7 separate regions of the Homo sapiens genome follow, and regions 2, 3, 4, 5, 6 and 7 are each linked to region 1. Evidence: promoter capture Hi-C in 16 types of primary human blood cells and fetal thymus (Javierre and others, 2016). All regions are on one chromosome and are shown on one strand. The core of a region is centred on a gene start or on the middle of the fragment in contact, and the rest is flanking DNA. Distances in the headings are between cores, read along the strand shown. Region 1 holds the start of SMNDC1 (survival motor neuron domain containing 1). Region 2 overlaps ADD3-AS1 (ADD3 antisense RNA 1). Region 3 overlaps SMC3 (structural maintenance of chromosomes 3). Region 4 overlaps ADD3 (adducin 3). Region 5 overlaps ADD3 (adducin 3). Region 6 overlaps SMC3 (structural maintenance of chromosomes 3). Region 7 has its middle 6.3 kb from the start of SMC3.

What was found. The method cuts DNA at HindIII sites, captures the fragments that hold promoters and counts their contacts. A CHiCAGO score of 5 or more calls a contact.
Region 2: a contact is called between a fragment that was not itself captured here and the fragment with the promoter of SMNDC1 in region 1, in 4 of 17 cell types (neutrophils, activated CD4 T cells, total B cells and 1 more). The highest score is 9.5, in neutrophils.
Region 3: a contact is called between a fragment that was not itself captured here and the fragment with the promoter of SMNDC1 in region 1, in 17 of 17 cell types (M2 macrophages, megakaryocytes, M0 macrophages and 14 more). The highest score is 114.2, in M2 macrophages.
Region 4: a contact is called between a fragment that was not itself captured here and the fragment with the promoter of SMNDC1 in region 1, in 6 of 17 cell types (neutrophils, monocytes, naive CD8 T cells and 3 more). The highest score is 14.1, in neutrophils.
Region 5: a fragment that was not itself captured here is called in contact with the fragment with the promoter of SMNDC1 in region 1 in 2 of 17 cell types (neutrophils and monocytes); the score reaches 7.6 in neutrophils.
Region 6: a fragment that was not itself captured here is called in contact with the fragment with the promoter of SMNDC1 in region 1 in 17 of 17 cell types (fetal thymus, naive B cells, megakaryocytes and 14 more); the score reaches 30.0 in fetal thymus.
Region 7: a fragment that was not itself captured here is called in contact with the fragment with the promoter of SMNDC1 in region 1 in 17 of 17 cell types (activated CD4 T cells, total CD8 T cells, fetal thymus and 14 more); the score reaches 67.6 in activated CD4 T cells.

Annotation. Positions count from the first base shown.
Region 1 is chr10:110,303,319-110,306,486 of GRCh38, forward strand. It overlaps SMNDC1 (survival motor neuron domain containing 1), which reads right to left and starts at 1,602. Exons shown (of 6, transcript NM_005871.4): 1 at 1,430-1,602; 2 at 150-269. The coding sequence starts at 269. RefSeq lists a silencer at 1,114-1,433. The HindIII fragment of the contact is 6,895 bases long and covers 1-3,168 here.
Region 2 is chr10:109,990,853-109,994,020 of GRCh38, forward strand. The region is part of intron 2 of ADD3-AS1 (ADD3 antisense RNA 1); the gene reads right to left. Among named protein-coding and RNA genes, the nearest start is that of ADD3, 16 kb to the right of the region's middle. The HindIII fragment of the contact is 205 bases long and covers 1,521-1,725 here.
Region 3 is chr10:110,597,215-110,600,382 of GRCh38, forward strand. It overlaps SMC3 (structural maintenance of chromosomes 3), which reads left to right. Exons shown (of 29, transcript NM_005445.4): 20 at 925-1,076; 21 at 2,440-2,598. Among named protein-coding and RNA genes, the nearest start is that of SMC3, 31 kb to the left of the region's middle. The HindIII fragment of the contact is 1,728 bases long and covers 739-2,466 here.
Region 4 is chr10:110,011,011-110,014,178 of GRCh38, forward strand. The region is part of intron 1 of ADD3 (adducin 3); the gene reads left to right. Among named protein-coding and RNA genes, the nearest start is that of ADD3-AS1, 4.2 kb to the left of the region's middle. RefSeq lists an enhancer at 2,889-2,948. The HindIII fragment of the contact is 2,156 bases long and covers 515-2,670 here.
Region 5 is chr10:110,030,710-110,033,877 of GRCh38, forward strand. All of the region lies in intron 1 of ADD3 (adducin 3), which reads left to right. Among named protein-coding and RNA genes, the nearest start is that of ADD3-AS1, 24 kb to the left of the region's middle. RefSeq lists a silencer at 1,442-1,736. The HindIII fragment of the contact is 5,269 bases long and covers 1-3,168 here.
Region 6 is chr10:110,577,807-110,580,974 of GRCh38, forward strand. SMC3 (structural maintenance of chromosomes 3) reads left to right here. Exons shown (of 29, transcript NM_005445.4): 6 at 29-108; 7 at 822-900; 8 at 3,098-3,168. Among named protein-coding and RNA genes, the nearest start is that of SMC3, 12 kb to the left of the region's middle. The HindIII fragment of the contact is 3,969 bases long and covers 1-3,168 here.
Region 7 is chr10:110,559,840-110,563,007 of GRCh38, forward strand. No RefSeq gene overlaps it. Among named protein-coding and RNA genes, the nearest start is that of SMC3, 6.3 kb to the right of the region's middle. The HindIII fragment of the contact is 1,243 bases long and covers 1,083-2,325 here.

The DNA of each region.
Region 1 (3,168 bases), core at 352-2,851:
AACCCTACTTCTACAAGCAATGGTACCTACAGAATTTACATATATACATAGGGTGGGGTGTAACCCCTCAAAAGGCGCTTTGGGTACTTAGGGATTCAAGCAATAATTTGAAAAACAGAGAAAAAGTACAATTGTCTACCCATACTTACTTGTAAATCTTTCTTCAATTTTAGCAAATCTTCATTTTCTCCATTTCCAGATAATGCAGCTTCAACTTGCTGGAGCTGAGCTTTGTAGCTTGCCAGCTGCTTTGCTAAATCCTCTGACATCTAGGGAAAATAAAAAGGGTTAGACCATGAAAACTAAACCAAAAATCAAGGCATAAAAAACTAACTCCCCTGTCTGCCTGAATTACCAGTTTTTGCCTCTAACTCCTTCTAACACTGCAGCTTAATTTACCACCATTACCTTTACTCTCAGTTTAGACTTCAGCTAAACCACAAACTTAAAGGCAACAGATTCTGAGGATTATAAACTTGAGATACATTCCATACTTTAAAAAAGCATACAGATACAAAGAAATTTCTAATTTTCTTTTAACTCCTATCCACAGGGTAGGTGCTGAATTCGGCTCAATAATCAGTGTTATCTTTTTAAAAAGCACTACTCTGTTGGAAAAGTCGAAACTTTCAAAAACAATCCAAATACTTATTTTTAAGCACTACAGTATGCTTCCAAAGCCAAACAAGTGCGTTTTTAAATTAACTACACAAACTACGATCTTTACTTGAACTATTCAATTAAGAGTGTATTTAAAAGTGCCTCTCCAAAACAAAAATCTTTCGCCCAGTCGCTTAAATATTTATCGGTGCATTATCTTCAGCAAAAAGAACAGCACAGGTACTCTCCCATTTAGGCATTCTAACGAATGTGCCTTTCGCCAAATCCAGCTCAGTCATTTTCCTGAAAATAAGATACCAATTAACCTTTTTTGATGGTTTATAAGCAAATGTACCACGTTTCCGAGGACCCTTCTCCTTCGTAAAATTCCCGTCCAACCAAAGGCTGGGAGCCTGCAAAGGCCCCCTAAGAGTTACAGCGACCCAGGCTGCTCTCCTCCCCGCCACGCAGCACCTCAAAGCCCGCCACAACTCGATCATTCGGACGTGGAAATCCACACGCCAGCTCCAAGACCACCGCCGGAGCCCCGCCGCGCTCCAACAGGCAGGCTCCACAGGGAGCCGCGCGGCGCCCAGCCCCACCCGACCCGGTCCCCTGCGGGCCGTGTTTGCCGCCGCCGCACGGAGGCCAGCGCCGGCCGGGCCGCCGAGGCTCAGCTCTGGCTGAGAGACGGCCGTGGCTCCGGGATCCAGGGCCAGCGCCTGGGCGTCTCCGGCGAGGCGGGCTCCTCAGCCTTGGGCCTCCGCTTCACCTCGGGAGGGACCCGGGCCCGGCCAGGCCTTACTCTCTCCCTCAGGGGGGTTGTTACCTTGTGTGGGGCTGGGGGCGGGGCGGCGGGAAGGGGTCGGGGCAAATGAGCCCAGTGGTAGTGGCGGTGGCAGCAGCAGCAGTAGCAGTAGCAGGAAAATCACCGCGACGACAGCAAGGCGACCCGGTCTGAAAAGGAAGAACTCGGTCGGCGGCGAGGGGGAAGGGAGGAACGCCGGGCACTGGAAGGAGGAAAAGACAGAGACGGTGAAGTCTCGCGAGAAATACAAACTCTCGCGCGAGGTCGCTCGACTCACGTGACTCCGCGCGCCCTCTAGCCAGTCCCTGGCTGTCAGGGACACGAAGTAGGCGGGGCCTAGGAAGGAAATGGCGTAGCTGGGCTTCGCCAGGCGCGGAATGCAGGTTATCTTCCTGGAGTTCCGGCTTGGAATTTATTGGAAATGCAAATTCTCAAGCCCCACCCCAGACCTCCTGAATCCAGAGACTCTTGTTTTAATAAGCTCACCAGATGATACCAATGTCCGCTGACGTTTGAGAACCACTGCTTTTCCGGGGCGGTGGTGGTGGGTGGCGGGGGGTGTTGGTGGGGGCTCTCTTTACGTTGCCCTGGCTGGTCTCCAGCTCCTGGGCTCAAGCTATCCTCCTGCATCGGCATCCCAAAATGCTAGGATTACAGGCGTGAGCCACCGCGCCCAGCCTGAGAACCACTACTTTATATGATACAAGCCTTAGTAGTAACAGAAAGCTAATTAAATCGTGACAGAAATAACCTATTGGAGAGAAGATTGATTTCTTTAAAATCTGTTTTGTTAAAACCTACTTGGTTTTAATTTAGTTGGGTTAATCTCGCCTGATAGGGAACAACGTCCAAGTTAGTCTAGAATGGTAAAGAGTGGTAGGAATACTCACATTTGTGTTCAAAAAGAAATGCCCCTTGTGTATGTTTGTAATAATATATACGCTTTCTGGACGGATACACAAAACTGTTCAGAGGTTTGGAGTGGAAGCCAAATGTTTTATTGATTACCCTCTTTGCTGTTTACCCTTTTTCCTTTTCTTTTTTTTTTAAACCATATATATATAATTTATTTCAATTAAAAAAGCAATAAAGGCCTGAGACACAAAGTTTTATATAGATGACAGGAAGCAACCTTTCCTGGGAGGTTGGGAGTTTGTTGCTGGATCCATAAAAAGGCCCACTTCTCGCGGATCACCTGAGGTCAGGAGTTCGAGACCAGCTCGACCACGTGGAGAAACCCCGTCTCTACTAAAAATACAAAAAAAAAAAACCAACAACAACAACAACAACAAAAAGCCGAGCATGTTGGTGCATTCCTGTAATCCCAGCTGCTCGGGTGGCTGAGGCAGGAGAATCGCTTGAACCTGGAGGCGGCGGTTGCGGTGAGCCGAGATCGTGCCATTGCACTCCAGCCTGGGCAGCAAGAGTGAAACTCCGTCTCAAAAAAAAAAAAAAAGGCCCACTTCTCAGATGGGCTCTTTTGAACTGTGCCAACATCTTTAGTTCCTAGTTTTCTTTTCAAGGAGCCTTCCCTTTTGTTCTCTACACACACACACATAACCCTTGCAGTGAGTCAGATAACCTGTATAGATGGAAACTAGGTCGGGTTTGTGAGTGTGAAAGATTGAAATTGCAGCAGAGGGCAGCAGTGTGTAGCTAGAATTAAGAAGGCAGACAAAACAGAAAGCATGTGCTTTTAAATAAATATTCGTTTAAAATAAAATGTAGTTTTAGAGAACTTCTGTTATTGTAATTGTGTG
Region 2 (3,168 bases), core at 373-2,872, 310 kb before region 1:
TTCTATTAGGTTAATAACCTCTCACCTAGACTTAACCCCCTTAAAAGCAAGGATCATATCTTAACCATATTAAAAATTCAGAATTTGGCACAAAACTTGGCACACATTAGGTGTTCAAATATTTTTTGAATGACAAACTCATGAATGACAATAGCTAACTTTTACTGAGCATGTAATATATGCCAGGTTCTATGCTAGGTACTTTAAATGTTCTTAAATCCTCACGACAACTTTTTGATTGCTGCCTCCATTTTACTGATGAGAAAACAAAGACTTGGATAGGCTACATAAATTGCCATGATTTTATTGCCAGTAGGTGTCAGGGCAGGAATTTAAACTCAAATGTTTCGGACTCCCCCCCCACCACCCACCTCCCCAAGCCCCCAGCTGACTGCTAACTTCTACGTTTACTGCTGACAATTGAATGAAGAGATAAATGAATAAATGAATGAACAAATGGATAAACTTAACCAACTACACACTCTACTCCACTAATTTTTACAACCAGTGGAACAATTTCGAGAAGCAATTGGCTGGAATTAGTGATGCAGGGTGGTTGTTGAATATTTCTTTGCATGAGGCAATTTGGCTCCTTGAAAAAAATTAAGCTCAAGTGCTCATTAACACTGTTTTTTAATCAAATGAACTGGCATCTGGCAAATGTTAGATGATAGATGTTTGCAGTGCCCAGCTTTAGCAGGCAAGCTCCTGGGCCACAGAGCTTTATTCACTGTAACCAGTACTAAGCTCCAAGTGCACACATCAGGTTTTTTGTGGGAAATTATCTGATGACCAAGTCTCACTTCCTTTCAAGAAAAACACTCATAATGGTCATATGCCAGTTAGGGCATTTTGCCCTATCTGAGATCCAAAGGAAGCTGTGGAGGGATATAAAGGAACCCTAGATGTCAGGGGTTCCAGATTCCTCTCTTGTCTTGAGGGCTTAGATAGGTGAGGGTCTTTCTAGGGTATTAAACCAGATGGTCTTTCAGTTCTGACTTTTATCCAAAGGAAACATATTAACTTATTTATTTCCTTTAAAAAGGTATTCTCCAAGTGAGGATTCCTGAACTTTGTGAAAAGGTAACCAAGTGCTTAAACATATGTTTGTGAATTTAGCTATTCTTATTTTACTGTTTTTTGAAATTATACAAATAATACTTGCACATGTAAAAGCACTCAAATATCCAAACATTTAAAGCAAAAAATGAAAATCTCTTTCTCCTAATCCCACCCCTCAGAATTAACTACTGTTAAGTTTTTCGTACAGATTTCCAAACTTTTTTCTAAATACATACACCATATATTTACATCTATATACTCACATAAATATATGCACATGCCCATGCATACATAGATACATATATACAAATATAGCTCATCATATAGTGGTCTAAAACGTACTTTTTTCCTCAACAATATATCATGGACATCATACCAGGTTAACATGATGTTTCATCAAGGCTGTATAGTATTCCATTTTATGGATCCATTATCATTGTTTTTACTATTCTATTGAAAGCTTTAGACTGTTGTTGTCACTGTTGTTTTGTTTGTTTGACATTGGAAACCACCTGGCAGTGAACATCCTTGTAACTATCTTGTTTAAATGTTCACACAAGAATTTCCGCACAGTAACTTCATTACCATGGATTTTTTTTAGTCAAAGAGGCACATGTTTTAATTTTTCATACTTATGGACAAGTTCAAAAAGAGATGTTTTGAAGCTTCTGTTCCTACGGAAACTTTCTGTGAAGTTTCAAATGACTGTGAGGTCCACAGCTCTGGGTTATCTCACTCCTAAACTCATGGAATTCCTTTCACTTTAGTAAAGTTAGCATGTTTCCTGCATTACGACAATCTCTTATCCCAGAGCACATTTGAACTCCTTTCCAAACTATCCTTTATTTCAGAAGCCTCTCATGCTGCAAAGTAAAGATTAAATTCTACCTCCACTATGGATTTTTTCTAACTAGTTAGCATACACTTGCGTACAGCTTCATTAAGTCCCTGTTTAAGCTTCCTTCTTTTCTATTGTACAAGCAAAAGAAGGTGGTTTTATTGAGAAGGAAAATGCAAGGCAATATACAGAAAGTGGTTATTTATTTGAAACAGGAACAAGGGAAAAGTTGAGAACATTTCAGAACAAATCATCATAACAGGAACCTGAAATCATGCCATAAACACCTCAGGCCCCAAGAAATACTGACTTCAATATATTCTAAGAAAAGAATTCTTAATTGTAATTTTACCAAGCACTCTGTATGTGCAGGCATTTTATAGAAAATCTTTTTTTTTTTTTTTTTTTTTTAGACAGAGTCTTGCTCTGTCGCCCAGGCTGGAGTGCAGGGGTGCAATCTTGGCTCACTGCAAGCTCCGCCTCCCGGGTTCACTCCATTGTCCTGCCTCAGCCTCCTGAGTAGCTGGGACTACAGGCGCCCGCCACCATGCCTGGCTAATGTTTTTGTATTTTTCAGTAGAGAAGGGGTTTCCCCGTGTTAGCCAGGATGGTCTCGATCTCCTGACCTCGTGATCTGCCCGCCTTGGCTTCTCAAAGTGCTGGAATTACAGGCGTGAGCCACCGTGTCTGGCCTAGAAATTATTTCTAATCCTCCCAATAGACTTGTCAGGTAAGTTGCAATATCTCCGTCAGGTAGATGAGGAAACTGAGCCTTACAGAACTGATGCAATTGCGTCAAGATTTCATATCCAGTAAAGTGCTTAAGATGGGGTTCAAACTCAGATTCATCTGATTTTCTTTCCATTGTACTTTGTTGTTTCTCTTGCCATCCACATTGCCAACTCAGAACTTCAAGGAAAAGAATCAAGACCAATGAATGGAGGTGCCAAGATGCAGAACTTAGCTCAGCATAAGGAACATAAGAAGATGAGTCACTTTTCATGGGAGGTTGGATGATGGGTTATCTGTCAGGAGTAATGTAGATTATATTTCTGCAGTGGGTCAGAGGCTAGATCAGTCCTCTTCCAAGTCTACACATGTATACTTTGACTCCCATATCCATTTTACAGATAGGGAAACAGAAGTTTAGAATCATTAAGTGATTCGTTCAAGTCCACAGCTCATTAGTGCAGACCCCAAGCATAGTGGTGGCTCTTCTACTGACCTTTCCACAAGAAAACACCTACTTCTAAGTTTGTAGACTTTCT
Region 3 (3,168 bases), core at 353-2,852, 290 kb after region 1:
AGATTTAATGTTAGTGGAGGAAATGGCTGTCAGATAACCAAGTCGGAGTAGCCATAGTTTTTTTTTTTACATAAAAATGGTGCTGCATGAGGAGTGGTTAGTTCAGTTCACAAATGAAACAATTGTATATGTGGATTTTCTTAAAACCACCATGGTGCTTTGGTATAAGAAGTACTTTATGTGTGCTTTCCATTTTGCCACACAAGTTGAAAAATATAGGTACTTGAGCATCAAGAATAGATATAAAGTTAATGATTTTTAACTGCTTCAGGTGAAACTGGAATTTTTTTAAAACTGCAGATTTATAACTTCTGTGCCATCAGTGCAAGCACAGAAAAAGAAAAATAAGCACCTGAGCTTTGACCTTGCAGGGGTCTGCATATCGCACTTTAAAGAACTGCCTGAATTTGGCAAGATGTTAACACAAAGAGCGTATGGGGAAATACTGAGGAAAAGGAGGATGTTGACAGTGTATACCAGCTGTCTTCCTGTGTTTGATAATCCAGCTAGATTGAATTATTCCACACATGGCAAGAACTCTTCATACATAAACCCTTAACATAGTGCCTTAAGCATAGTAACAGTAAACATTTGTTGAATGAAAAGATATTTAAAAGTATGTAATATTGTTAGATTTCACCTAACCTCCTTTATGGTTTTCCAAGAATTTGTTTTGTATAACTTTTAGTAAAACAGTATACATGTTATTCTGAGAGTGAAATGGGGTGAAATGTTTCAAGCTTCTTTATGATTGAATGCATTTTGGGTAATATAGTTCAGCATTGTTTTGGTCCATAAATTTGAGGACATAAATGTTATTTGGGGGTAAAGAAAAGGAAGGGATACATGGTGTTGTGTCTAAAAAGAATTAAGAACATACGATATATTTACAACCTGGAGATAATTTTCCTTAGCCTTGTATATGGATTAATAATGAAATTGATCAGTTGATGAACCAAATGCAACAGATCGAGACCCAGCAAAGGAAATTTAAAGCATCTAGAGATAGCATATTATCAGAAATGAAGATGCTAAAAGAGAAGAGGCAGCAGTCAGAGAAAACCTTCATGCCTAAGGTTCGTAAGTATATCTTTGGTTATAGATCGATTGTTACAGATTAATAATATGGAAATATGAATCATACATTATATGGGTTATCCTTGAATTTTATGTTTCATTTTTGTTTGGACCCATACTTTTTTTTTTTGAAGACAGAGTCTCTTTCTGTCTCACCCAGGCTGGAGTGCAGTGGTGCGTTCTCAGCTCACTGCAGCCTCCACCTCCTGGGTTCAAGCGATTTTCCTGTCTCAGCCTCCTGAGTAGCTGGGACTACAGACATACGCCACCACATCCGGCTAATTTTGTGTTTTTAGTAGACATGGGGTTTCACCATGTTGTCCAGGCTTGTCTCAAACTCCTGACCTCAGATGATCCACCTGCCTTGCCCTCCCGAAGTGCTGGGATTACAAGTGTGAGCCACTGTGCCCAGGCTAGACCCATACTTTTGGATATCTACATCTATTTTACCATTCTTAAACCCATGGATACCCAAAGTCTCCTATTGTTGGCACGTTCAAACTTTCCACCTTCATTGAACAAATAGGCATTTGAAGCTGTGACATAAGAGTACTGTCTGATGGTCAGTTTTTGTCAGTAACCATTTTTATCTGAAGCACAATGGAATTAGTTGAATATTTGATTCCGTTTTGTCCAGATTGTATTAAAATTAGAAAGCAAACTTATAAGTGATAGTGTGTTATTGGTCTCATAAACTTGACAGTTTTGACAAATCTTTTACTTAGTATAATACTAAAACTACAAAGAGCTTAAAAAAAAAAAAAAAGATGTGCCTACAGTTGTACCATCCCAACCATATTCTGACAACTTTTTATTTTTTGAGGGGGATGGAGTCTCGCCCTATCGCCCAGGCTGGAGTGCAATGGCGTGATCTCGGCTTACTGCAACCTCCACTTCCTGGGTTCAAGCAATTCTCCTGCCTCGGCCTCCAGAGTAGCTGGGATTGCAGGCGTGTGCCTCCACACCCAGCTAATTTTTGTATTTTCAGTATAGACGGGTTTCACCATGTTGGCCAGGCTCGTCTCGAACTCCTGACCTCGTGATCCACCCACCTTGGCCTCCCAAAGTGCTGGGGTTACAGGCGTGAGCCACTGCGCCCGGCAACTTTTTGTTCTTATAATATGCCTGAAGATTTTTGTATAGTTTAATCATGGAATATGATCTGCCCCACCCTGCCCCACCTATACTATTACATCATATTTTTCTTGTTGCTAGAGTCCTAATTACCAAATTAATAGGCACCTAATATTTGAGTTGATATGTCTATATATTTAGCTCAATCAAATATAGATTGTTTTAAAATTTTCACTATAAGTAATACAGTGGCTAATACCTTACTAATAAATGGATAATGTCATATAGCAACGTAGCTTACAGAGTTTGGAGGCAAGCTTGCATGCTATGGAGTCTACCAGAGAGTCATTGAAAGCAGAACTGGGAACTGATTTGCTTTCTCAACTGAGTTTGGAAGATCAGAAGAGAGTAGATGCACTGAATGATGAGATTCGTCAACTTCAGCAGGTAAGTAGACAGCTGACTGGAAAAAGAATTCGTTAGTAATTGGCTATTGTGAAAAGGGCCTTTCTTGCTAACTAGGGCAATATGAAAGAAAAGAACTGAGAAAATATTAAAATGAGGCTTGGACTTTTAATATACATAGGAGTAAATAAGATTTTGTTTTTCTAAACCAATCTAGCTAGGTTAGGATTATACAAGAAATTTTCATTTCCTTAAAATTTAGTTAATTAGCATTACTTATTAGTTGTAAGTATTGCTATGAGTTTGAGCTTGTTAGCCTTACCATATTTATCTTACTGCCTTTACATATTTAATGTTTTGATCAAGCATTTTAATTGATTTTTAAAACTGCATAGATGTAAACTACCAACACCGATTCTAAAAAATGAAAAGCATTTAAAGAAACTGTTTTTGACAGCATGCGTTATAAAAAGGGCCAGCCACAAAAATTTAACATTATGAATTGATAAGAGAAAAATGAAGAAAGTATAGGGCTTTTTTGAAGAATATAACATATTAAACTTCATTTCAGCTCACATGAGCACAAGTACTAGAGAGGACAGCAAATGAGCA
Region 4 (3,168 bases), core at 343-2,842, 290 kb before region 1:
CACAACATATGTTTAGGGTGCTAGAGTTTGTGCTAGAGTGTGCTATCTTTCTAATTACTAAAGATACTAAAGTCTTTTTTTTTTTTTTTGAAGCTTACCAGATATGTAGGGCCCCAGGTGGCCCAGAGGGCACTAATTCCCATTGGAGATTCCAGTTCTGCAGTAAATCAGTAAACCTTATCACCTTTCTGATTACCAACATCATATCAACCTGAGATAAATTTTAACTTAAGTTTGTTCTAAATACCACCTGAGTTGCTTCCTAAAATGAACCCTAAATGCAAAGATGTAACTTGTGGCTTATACTTTGTCATTCACATTCCTCAAGGAACTGTGTGTTGCTGCTTCACCATTGTAGTTGATATGTCAAACAAATTATAAACTAAATTAGGAGCTGTTTTAAGTAATGTTTAGAATTATTGTAGATAGATGAAATGTCATTTGACAACTTAGTGCAATGTAATGTTAGGAAAAAATGTTTAAAAACAAGCATGCGTTGAATTGAGAAAGTGCAAGCTTTATTGAAGACACAGGTTACTAATCTGTTTCTCACACTAAACACTGTTTTTGTTATAATTAGTGCTTTTCAGATTCCTTTGAAAATATTAAATATGTAGAGTTTGAATTTTTAAAAAAACTTTAAATATCTAATCGAGTGCTATTCTTCCTTTTAAACGTAGACCTATTTGAAGTTATTTAAACCCAATTTAAAATTAATTGGACAGTCCTAGACTGTCATGTCATTGAGATTCAAAATAAGTGCCTTAATACTTTATGTCTTCTTTGTTAATACTCTATGGTTTGAACTCCGGGTCCATGCCAGAGTGTTTATAGGTGAGATTGTTATGAGGTCTTTCAGGTTCTGCCAGAGATTCAGTTCTCTTGGCCAAATGCCAAGACAGTCTCAAATTTTTACTGTAATTTTTTACTGTAATGGGTTGTATATATCAAGAATCCTCTAAAACATACAGGTTAGAAGTCTTTCATTGGCTGTTGCTTGAACGAAAAAGTGTGTTATCCCTTAGATGAATATGATTATTTTTTATTCTTGCAGTAGCTAATTATGGATGTGTGTGTCTATGTATACGTATGTCAAACCATGCTACTTGAGGGATTCTCTTCCTTTTAGGTAAAGTTAAAAATTATTCACCTGGTGTATTAATGTAATATTTATTGAGTACCAACAGTATGCATAGAGTAATACCTTTATGTGGGAAAAAAGTGTTGGAGAAAAAAGGTTTGTGGATCTTTTATTTATTTCATGTGTATTTTAATGTTGCTGAATATCTGGACCAGTCTCAAAGTTCAAAATTGAATTGCCAGTTGAAAACATGTTAAATGTTAAGAAAGTACTGTTTAACTTAAAGTCTTAGATGGTAGCACAGATAATGAGAATCAGAGCCCCTTGTTTCCTTAAACTGTTTTTGGTTGAGTATGTTTGAAAAGCTGCGTTAACAATTCCTTTCAGGCTTCTAGGACATTACTTAACTGCATTGAAGGAATACATTTAGAGTATCCTAGAAACCTTAAAGAATGAATGTGGCTTTCAGAGTTGTCTAGCATAATCCAAATAGTAGTAGCATGATCACCAAAAGGTATAAAATGGATGAAACCTCTCTTTGATTTTAAAAGGCTTACTGTTCTTGTAAGTTTGTTTCTTGAAGATAATATTGCTTAGTTTTAACTCCACTAAAAGCTGAACCGTTATTGTACAAGATGTATAGGCCTTGGCATATGTTTATATCTTTTTTTTTTTTCTTCTTTTGTATTTTTGAGACAGCTCTCACTATGTTGCCCAGGCTGGTCTCGAACTCCTGGGCTCAAGCCATCCTCCCACCTCAGCCTCCCAGGTAGCTGGGACTACAGGCATGAGCCACAGGCCTGGTTTATATCTTTAAGGTAAGGTTAGATCTAAATTGAGCCTTTACTTGAAGTCAGACTGATCTGCATCAGCACCATATGTTATGTTTACTTTTTTTTTTCTTTCAATGAAAATGGGCCTGAGGAGATTGGTTTGTATACGGTACATAAACTGGCATTTAAGATGACTACCTCTTCAAACAAGGCTACGGTTTTTTTGGATTTTTAGGTTTTTGTTTTGTTTTGTTTTGAGATGGAGTCTCTCTCTGTCATCCAGGCAGGAGGGCAGTGGTGTGACCTCGGCACACTGCAACCTCTGCCTTCTGGGTTCAAGCGATTCTTCTGCCTCAGCCTCCTGAATAGCTGGGATTACAGGCGCCTGCCACCACTACCGGCTCATTTTTGTATTTTTAGTAGAGATGGGGTTTTGCCATGTTGGCCAGGCTGGTCTTGAACTCCTGACCTCAAGTGTTCCTCCCCGCTCGGCTACCCAAAGTGCTGGGGTTACAGGCGTGAGCCACTGCACTCGGCCAAGGCTAAGGTTTTAATCTAGGGTTATGAAACTCAATTTTTTCTGCAGTGGGCATATGCAATTTCCATAGGATAAACATTTCCCTCAACCAGCTAGGAGGTAAAAACACTTCTGAGAAATTTAAGGACAGTAACATAATGTCTTTAAAACCAGTGTCTCAAGAAGTATACTATATTAGTGAAACAATAAAATAACAGTGATCACAGATACGTTAAGGCAAGCAGTGGATTAAGCAGGATAACCTAACTCCAAGTAATATACACGAAATTATTTTTTTAAGCTTCCATACCTCTTTAAATTTATTCTTGTGATTTCTTACTTTCCCCTCCCTCACCAAAGGAAGTGCTCACCTTTTCAGATGGAATGAAAGAGGAGAGTGCTGATGTGAGTGACTCAGCCTGTTTAACTCTGCCTCTGTGGTGGTTTGTTGGTTACCTACTAGAGGAGGTGGAACTCAAACAATGTAAAAGCAATCAGGTTGGAGAAGTGCTGAGTTTTTAGTGTCATGGGAACTCGGTGTATGTCTTTGTCACCATTAGCAGTGTTTCTGTGCAGTTCTTCCACAATGGCTCAGCTCATCCTGAGCAAGGACAGCATTTCTGTTTTCCTTTTCCATTCAATATTCTCATCCTATCATCTTTTGATTTGCTAGAATGACTAAATGCTAGAGCAGAAAGTTGGGTTTACTCATCCTCCTGAAGAAGATAGTTAGGCTTACTTGGTATATCTAAGGAAGTAAATTTGGAAGTCAAGGCCTCCCCAGGGACTTCTAAGAA
Region 5 (3,168 bases), core at 276-2,775, 270 kb before region 1:
ATACAGATTTCAAAGACCTAGTACAAGAAAAAGAACATAAAATAACTTTTTTTAATATATTGATTACATTGGCTACAGCTATTCCAGCTGACTTGGCTCGTCCAATTTGTATTACAGTGCTGTTTTGAGAGCTATTGCCTACAAGCAACCTCTACTCCTTCTCTAACTCTCCCATTGATGAAGTTTAAAAAACGAAACCAAACCACTTGCTCCACCCACTATCTTTAATGGTTGGTGACTCCTGACCAGCTTCTTGAAAACAGGTGATAAAAATAAATTTGTAAGTCCAGGCACGGTGGCTCACGCCTGTAATCCCAGCACTTTGGGAGACCGAGGCAGGTGGATCACCTGAGGTCGGGAGTTCGAGACCAGCTGACTAACATGAGGAAACACTGTCTCTACTAAAACTACAAAATTAGCTGGGCGTTGTGGCGCATGCCTGTAGTCCTAGCTACTCGGGAGACTGAGGCAGGAGAATCCCTTGAACCCGGAGGGGGAGGTTGCAGTGAGCTGAGATTGTGCCATTGCACTCCAGCCTGGGCAACAAGAGCAAAACTCTGTCCCTCAAAAAATCAAAATAAAAAATAAATTTATGGCTACTATCCATTGGGCACCTGCCATGTGCAAGGTACAGTGCTAGGTACTTTAGGTAAAATCATGAATCCTCACATCAGTTCCACCGGATTTATATTCTAAATTACGAAGAAACAGATTCAGATACATTGTGACTTTGCTCTGGGTAAGTGGCAACTAGTAGGTGGCAGAATGGAATTCCAACCTAAGCCAGCCTGGTTCTAGAACCAGTGTTCTTTCAGCTGTATTATACTCCCCTATGTTTTCATTTCCATGTGTGTCCTTTAACATGAAGCGGAGTACTGTTTATAAAGGAGTTTCTTGGCAAATGGTGTTGACTGATCAGTACTTAGGATCCTTAAGTTGTTTTCCTTTGTCTTGGTGGATGACTTTAATGCGCCACCCTCCTACCCTATCTGGTACCTAGTGAGTGGCCTAGATGTTAATGAAGAGACATGAGCTATTTTTTTTTTTTAAGTAACTTTTAAAAATTGACAAAAGTTACATGTATGTATTATCTAAAACATGATTTGGAATACGTATACATTTAGAACATAAGGTTTTAGAATATGATTTATGAGAATGCATAAATCAGTCTAATTGACATATGTATTACCTCAATACTTTTTTTTTTTTGTGATAACATTTAAAGTTTCCCCTCTTAGCAACTTCAAAGAGATTTAATCTTATTGGCAGCCAGTTGAACGGTATAGATCAAGCCTATGACTTTCTCACCTGGAAAATCAGTCACAAAAAATGTTTCAGATGCCTTCAGGAAGAGATACAAGAAGAGTCTCCTTTGCTAAATGCCAGGAATATCAAATCTTGGACTTCAGAGACTGGCCATATAAGGAAAGAGATTTTTATAGACAAAGAGGGTTGAAGTAAAATAATGGGATAGAATAAGCATATTAAGCTGGATAAGTGTTATGTAATCCTAGGTCATCTCTTAATGGCCATGTCCTTGACATTGTTGCATTAAGAATGAGAGCTCGGAGAAATAGTCCATGTGTTGGCATGCTAGTCTCTAAGTTAGAATAGATGTGATCACAAATCATGAGTGCTCTTAAAGGGTGGATCCTGCATTCACTCATCCACTTCTGCCTTCATTCAGGCTCAAGCAAGTGGTGGTGACTTTGGAAAGATAAGGAGAGAAAAGGAAGGACAAAAAAGGAAAAAGGGAGTAAAACCAGACTGGGGAAGTGGGCAGCAGGGATACTTGGGCAAATTCAGAGTGCATAGTATTTGTACATGTACATGCATATTGTATTTATAATACTAAGAGCTATGTAAACTGTAAAATACTATTTCAGGAAAGAGTATAGTATGCTAGAAAGAGAATTTCTGACTAGGTGGTGTGGATTCAGCTTTCTCAGCTCTACCATTACCCTAAGTGTGTAACCTTATGAAAGTGTTAGAATCTGAAATAATCGCTATTCTATTAATACTTCTCTGGCTTTCCTTCCTGATTAAGATCATGCTAAGTTTGAAAACACTTTGTGCGTGCTCATATGCTGTATACATGTTGTTATTGTTTTTATACTGTTAATTATTTCTCTTCATCTAAAGTATTGCCTACCAGAAACTTTATCGAGAGGAAAAAATTTGTACCCAAGAACACACACATTATGATTAAGAGAAGTTAGAGTTAAATTAAATAGCCAATTTAAATAGAGCCAATTTGGCTCTCATCCCTAGGCTTTATAAAAGAGACAGTGGCAGCCTTGTGGGTGAGGGGAATGTGGACCTAATTACTCATTTAATTTAATCATTCATCCCTTTAACTCCTTTAAAACCTGACTTTTATAGGTCGATTATATAATGTGTGTGAGCACAGTGTTTCTCTTTGAATGAAAAACCCTGTTGAATGGCTTTACAAAAAGAAGATTTTGATATATTCATAGTAATAAACTTGGTTTGCATTTCTCTGAGGCTTATGGTCTTCAACTTCTGACCAAGTTAGTGAAGGGCTGCTATAACTACCAGATGGCAGTCTTTTCTGATCCAGTGTTAGATGCCAACAGACTAATAGCAGAATAGATGTAAGCAGAATTCAAGCACAGCATTTGAAGTATTGTTTAAATTGGTCATCTAGCAAATTTAATATAAAGAGGATAAAGAGAATATGTTCATGTCGCCATACAATTGTTTGGTTCTCAGGGCAGTCCCAGAATGCATCTTTAGTTTGTGTTCCATGTAAAATGCAGGGTACAGGGATATTTTGCCAAGTGCTGGTTTGAAATTTACTTGGGATCCATCCAGCTGGCAGATCAGCTGTGCTAATCAGATGGGCCCGTTTCTGGGGAATGGGATTTCATAGAGGGAGCAGTGTTCTTGAAGTATAGTTACTTAAAAACCAGTTAATTTTTAATTTAAAAATTCTCATAAGTGCTATATTAAAATGTATATAGTGCAAGTATTATGTATATAGTGCAAATACTTTGTGCATTCTTGTAAATAATAAATAGGGACAATAAAGTCATTGTGCTATACTCAGCTGCCTTTAATTTCTATTTTGAATCTCTGGGACCGTAATTTGCTAGTTGCCTGCAGTGTTTATTAGGATTAACTCATCTGCATTTCCCACTAATGTAG
Region 6 (3,168 bases), core at 499-2,998, 270 kb after region 1:
AACTGTGGGCTTTTACATTTTTTCTTAGATCGATAAAGAGGAAGTTTCACTTCGAAGAGTTATTGGTGCCAAAAAGGATCAGTATTTCTTAGACAAGAAGATGGTCACGTAAGCATTTTTCTTTTTTTTAAAAAAACTGAATATGTACTTAAATAGAGATGGGGTATTGCTGTGTTGGCCAGGTTGGTCTCGAACTCTTGGCCTCAAATGATCCACCTCGGCTTCCTAAAGTGCTAGGATTACAGACATGAGCCACCACGCCCAGCCAGCATTTTTCTTTTTCTCAATACGGAGTCTTGCTCTGTCGCCCAGGCTGGAGTGCAGTGGCGCAGTCTCGGCTCACTGCAACCTCCACCTCCCGGGTTCAAGCTATTCTGCTGCCTCAGCCTTCTGAGTAGCTGGGATTGCAGGCAGTCACCACCACACCCGGCTACTTTTTGTATTCTTAGTAGAGACGGGGTTTCACCATGTTGGCAGGCTGGTCTCGAACTCTTGACCTTGTGATCTGCCTGCCTTGGCCTCCCAAAGTGCTGGGATTAGAGGCATGAGCCACTGCGCCCAGCCCGCAATTTTATGATTTCCTTACAAAAGAGTAAAAAGTATTCTTTTACCTGCTTCATATATGAGGAATATTTGCTTCATCTTCAACAAGTCAACATATAGAGGATAAACATAAGAATCAGAAAGTTCTGAGGATGATACAGATGGTTTAATTACTGATCTTTCCTCCCTAATGCTATCAACCAAGGGGCTACTCTACTCATTGCTTAATGGTGCTTTAAAATTATTTATCGGAAAGTAATTTCATTGTTTGTCAACAGGAAAAATGATGTGATGAACCTCCTTGAAAGCGCTGGTTTTTCTCGAAGCAATCCTTATTATATTGTTAAACAAGGAAAGGTAAAACAATTGTATGTCCTTTTTAAGTAGAATTTGTTTTCTGAGTAATTCTTGAGTGATGAATTTGGTTTATTGATTTGAGTGGTTAAGCTGAAGCAAAAATGGCCATATTCTTTTACATGGCCATAAAGTACCAAATAGGTCCATTGCATGTTGAGATGGAAGTATTTCAGCATATTAAGTGGATCTTGTTTTCCTAGTGACTGGTATTACTTACTGAGGTGAAAGTATGGGAAGACATTATTGGCTTATGAATGTTGCAATAATTAAGAATATTGTAGGAATTCTATAAAAATCACATTTGAAAAACTTTCTAAAATTAATATTTTGTGTTACCTAATTATTTATCACAATTAAAATACTGAAAAGCTAACATTACCAGAAATCTGCCATTTTGCCACATGTTATTTTCCCTAATAGGGATTATGTTTTTACATTTTTTCAGCAGCCAAACTACAAACTTTTTTAGCTGATTGTTCTGCTCTCTTCTCATATACTTTCACTTTTTTTTTGGACTAGGGAAAATTCTCAAAGAATATTCACTTATTTTATACTGTAGGCCTTTTTTTCTAGATATGTATTGGAAAGTTAGCATTTAGAAGAAGTGATTAGGAAGAATATGGAGTTTCAGTTTTAGAAAATGTGTTACTGGAAGAACACGTTTTTTTCCGATTTAACTATTTGTGGGAGATAAATTTTTTTAAATGGAGGCTGATTTGAAAGAGCACTTTTCTGAGATCCGTCTGCTGTCAATCTAGGCCCTTTTACTTCATTTCAGTTTCTGCCCGTATGCCATCCTTGATTGCCTCATCTGAAAGCATTGCCGTCCCCTCAACCCTATGTGCTTTATTTCCTTAATCTGTTTTATTTTTCTTCATAACACTTACACTGTTAGGATAGTACTTATTTTCTGTCTTTTTCCATTAGAATGTAAGCTCCATGAGGGTGGGACCTTTTCTGCTTTGTTTGCTCTTTTCCAGTGCCCAGCAGTGGCACATATGTTGTAGCCATTTGAAAAATAATTTTTAAGTGAGGAAATTGCATGAACCAATATGTATAATTGGAGCGTTCAATAATGAGGATCTGAAGGATGATTCTTTGATGTAGATACTTTTGATAGACCTATTTTCGTAGAGATAATTTCAATTTTTTAATGCAGTGATATCATTTTTGACATTTAGGGATACTTGTTATATATTAAGTTGCATGGCACTTAAGTTGTACCATTCTCTCTATATTTAAAGCATACCATTTTTGTCATATCATTAGCCTTCTGTATCTGTAGGTTCCACATCTGCAAGTTCAGCCAACCATGGATCAAAAATATTTAAAATAAATAAAATTTTAAAACAGTACAATAAGAAATAATACAAATTTAAAAATACAGTAAAACTATTTACATAGCATTTACATTGTATTATTATAATTAATCTAGATATTAAAGTATATGGAAGGATGTGCATAGGTTATATGCAAATACTATGCCATTTTATATAAGGGACTTGAGCATCCTTGGATTTTGGTACCTGCAGGGGGTCCTAGAACCAATCCCCATGGAAACTGAGGAAGAATTGACTTTTAATATATTATTGTAGCTTTAAAAAAAAGTGTAGTCAGTGATGGTTTTCCCTTATAAAAATACTTTGTTTTTTGAGAATGGAGCTCATCTTTTATACCTTATCATATTGACTAAGAAAAAGATGGTGGTGTGAGATACTCCTTCACTTGTTAGCCCTATTCATAAAGGAGAGTTATGACCGTAACAGTTGTATTTGGATTTTATTTGGTAAATTTCATTTAAGTAAAGGAGACATAGATATGTAGGCATGCGTACTATACAAATGACATTAGCCAAATCATAATCTGTTTAAAACTTGGCATGTCCCAAATTCAAAAGTCTGAAATACAGAATGCTCTACAATCTGAAACCTTTCGAGTGTGGACATGACATTCAAAGGAAATGCTTGTTGGAACATTTTGGATTTCAAATTTTTGGATTTGGGTTGCTCATCTGGTAAGTATAAATGCAAATATTCCAAAACTTGAAAAAATCTAAAATCTGTAACACTTCTGGTTTCTAACCATTTTGCATAAGGGATACCCAACCTTCATGTGTATTAAAAACCTTTCAACGTGGAGTTCTTCTTCTTAAACGGAGGCTACAGCTATGTAATGATTATTTTTCTAAAAATTTTAGATCAACCAGATGGCAACAGCACCAGATTCTCAGAGATTAAAGCTATTAAGAGAAGTAGCTGGTACTAGAGT
Region 7 (3,168 bases), core at 454-2,953, 260 kb after region 1:
CCTCCAAAATTCTTAACTGAGTTTTGAGAAATGCATAAATCGTGGAATCCAAATCTCTATAAAGATACAGAACATTATCATCAGCTCTCAGAAAATTCCCTATGTTCCTTCCTGGTTCTCTCCAACTCTCCCTGAAGCTATCACTTTTCTGATTTTTTTTAACCTATATGCCCTCATTGTCAGACAGAGTTGATTTTTTTCCACCATAGATGCTTTTCACCTGTTCAAGAACTTCATATACATAGAATTACACAGTGTGTATTCATCAGGGGAAAGCTGTTTTCACTCAGTAGAATACATATATTTTTTCCTTTTTGTGGAGAATGGGGTCTTGCAATGTTGCCCAGGCTGGTGTCAAACTTCTGGGCTCAAGCGTTCCTTACACCTCTCCATCCCTAAGTGTTCGGATTACAGGCATGAGTTACCGCCCCCGGCCACACTCAATATAATATTTTGGAGATTCAGCCACGTCACGGCATGTGTCTGTAGTTCACGTCTCTTTTTTTTTTTTTTTTTCTTTTTTGAGATGGAGTCTTGCTCTTGTTGCCTAGGCTGGAGTGCAGTGGCACGATCTCGGCTCACTGCAACCTCTGCCTCCCGGGCTCAAGCGATTCTCCTGCCTCAGCCTCCTGAGTAGCTGGGACTACAGGTGTGCACCAGCATGCCCAGCTAATTTTTATATTTTTAGTAGAGATGGGTATTCACCATGTTGGCCAGGATGGTCTCGATCTCTTGACCTCGTGATCCACCCACCTTGGCCTCCCAAAGTGCTGGGATTACAGGCATGAGCCACTATGCCTGGCCAAACCTCCCTTTTCCTAGTAACTTGTTTTTTGCATTTCATTGCTTTCTCCCAAAAATACTTATACTAGATTTAGGGATTTTGTATTAAATATCTTTTAAATTATAAAAGATAATTTAAACCAGAAAATGTATCAGCTTACGTTACTGTTAAATAATGTAGTTTTGTGTTTAACTTTCTAGTGATACAGTTACTACTGAGTGAAAAATTGGGAATCTGGAACCTGGCATATTTGAATCTATGCCAGAATTTGGATTTCTGCATTAATCTAAATAGCTGAAGCTTTGTGTAAAGACGATCTAAACCTGAGATTTCAATAGCACATTTGAAATTATGATGTATTTCAATTATATACAGCACTGTTATATTTTATGAAATAGTTCAAGAATGACTTAGATAATCTACACATTATCATCTGTACATGGTCTAAGTATCGGTATGGTTCAAAGATTCACTGTTGAAATATTTTCCTAGGTTTTTCCAGCTTTATTAAGATATATTTCACATACAATAAAATTTACCCATTTAAAATATGGAGTTGTTATTTTCACTATATTCAAGAAGTCATGCAACCATCATTACAATATAATTTTAGGATATTTTCAACACTCCCTTTCCTCCCCTAAAAAACAAACCTGTACTCCATTTTCAAACCTTCCCTTCCAATCCCCAGCCCCAGGCAGCCACTGAACTGTTTTCTGTCTCTGTGGATTTTCCTATTCTGGAAAGTGCCTAAATGTTTTCCAAAGTGGCTGCATCATCTTACAATCCCACCAGCAACATACGAGGCTTTCAATTTCTCCATATCCCAGCCAACACCTGTTATTGTCTGCCTTTTTATTTTAGCCATCCTAGTGGGTATGAAGTGGTATCTGACTGTGGTTTTGATTGACATTCCTCTGATGACTAATGATGTCGAGCATCTTTTCACACGTTTATTGGCCATTTGTTTATCTTCTTTGGAGAAATGTGTATTCAAATCTTTTGCCCATTTTTAAAGTGGGTTGTTTGTCTTTTATTGTTGAGTTGTGAGAGTTCTTTATATATTTTGGATATATATATACACACACACACACACACACACACACACACACACACACACACGTAAATTGTCAGGTATACAATTTGCAAATATTTTCTCCCAGTCTATATCTTTTCACTTCTGTTAGTGAACAACAGTTTTGAGGAAGTACAATTAATCTTTGTGTGTGTTACTTTGCTTTGGCAATGCATTACAGAAACCACTGCCAACACAAGGTCACAACGATTTACTCCTATGTTTCCATCTGGGGGTCTTGTAGTTTTAGCTCCTAGGTTTGCTAAATAAAATTTATAGAAAGTCATTGGTTTTCATGGAGCTCCTGCACTAGACCCAACAGACCAAACCAAAATGGATTTACTCATATTGAAGTTCCACAACACCATGCCAAAACTAAGTTGTTTATCTGAACTTTCAAGAAATCAAGAGAGAGAGAAAATAGCCAAATTCCCAAATAGGCCTGTTTTAGCCAGCATGATGAGGAAGCTTCCTCTGCTTTAACCTTTACAAGGAGAGCAACTTTGAAACAGCTGTGTTTTGTTTTCTGTCTGCTTTCCTCAGCCCTTTTCTATCTAGAAAGCCATGATCTTCTGCTCAACTCACCAGAATGTGCATTCTTTTTCATAGAATGAGGTGTTGCTTGATTCTAGAATCACAAGTAAAGCCAATTAAGATCTTTAAACTAAATTCATTATAATTTTGTCTTAGGACGTGTTTAAGTCTATAACCCATAGGGGTTTGTGGCTATGGTTCATAGACCATGTTGTTCTAGGAGTAAGATAAGTTGGCAGCCAGTGACGGTGTGTACATCTTCACTTACATACCAAATTAGATTAGGCTTGAGCGAGCACAAGCTGATGTCAGTCCCTGCAATGGAAAGTCTCAACCCCTCATCCAGTTTATGTACGGGAGGCAGATCTCACACCACAGCCCATCAACTGAAGGGGAAGCTGAGTCCCAAGGAAGGTGTATTTTCTCCTTGGGTATATTCAGTATCATTTCTTTCAATCTGACCCTAAAACTTAACAGAGTAACTGAACCCTAGGAAAAGGGGAACACCCAGATCTTTTGAGTGCTGTTGGACATAGGATCTGAGCTGACACTGAGCTCAAACATGTTTATGGCTCCCCTGATCCAGTGGAGGTGTACAAAGGCCAGGTGATACATGAAGTCCTGGCTCAAGTCTGTTTCACATTCGTTGCACTAGGTCCATAAACCCATCCTGCGGCAATTTCCCTGACCAATGAGCACACAGTCAAAATGGATTTTTTTCTCTTTTTTGAGATGGAGTCTCACTCTGTCACCCAGGCTGAAGTGCAGTGGTGTG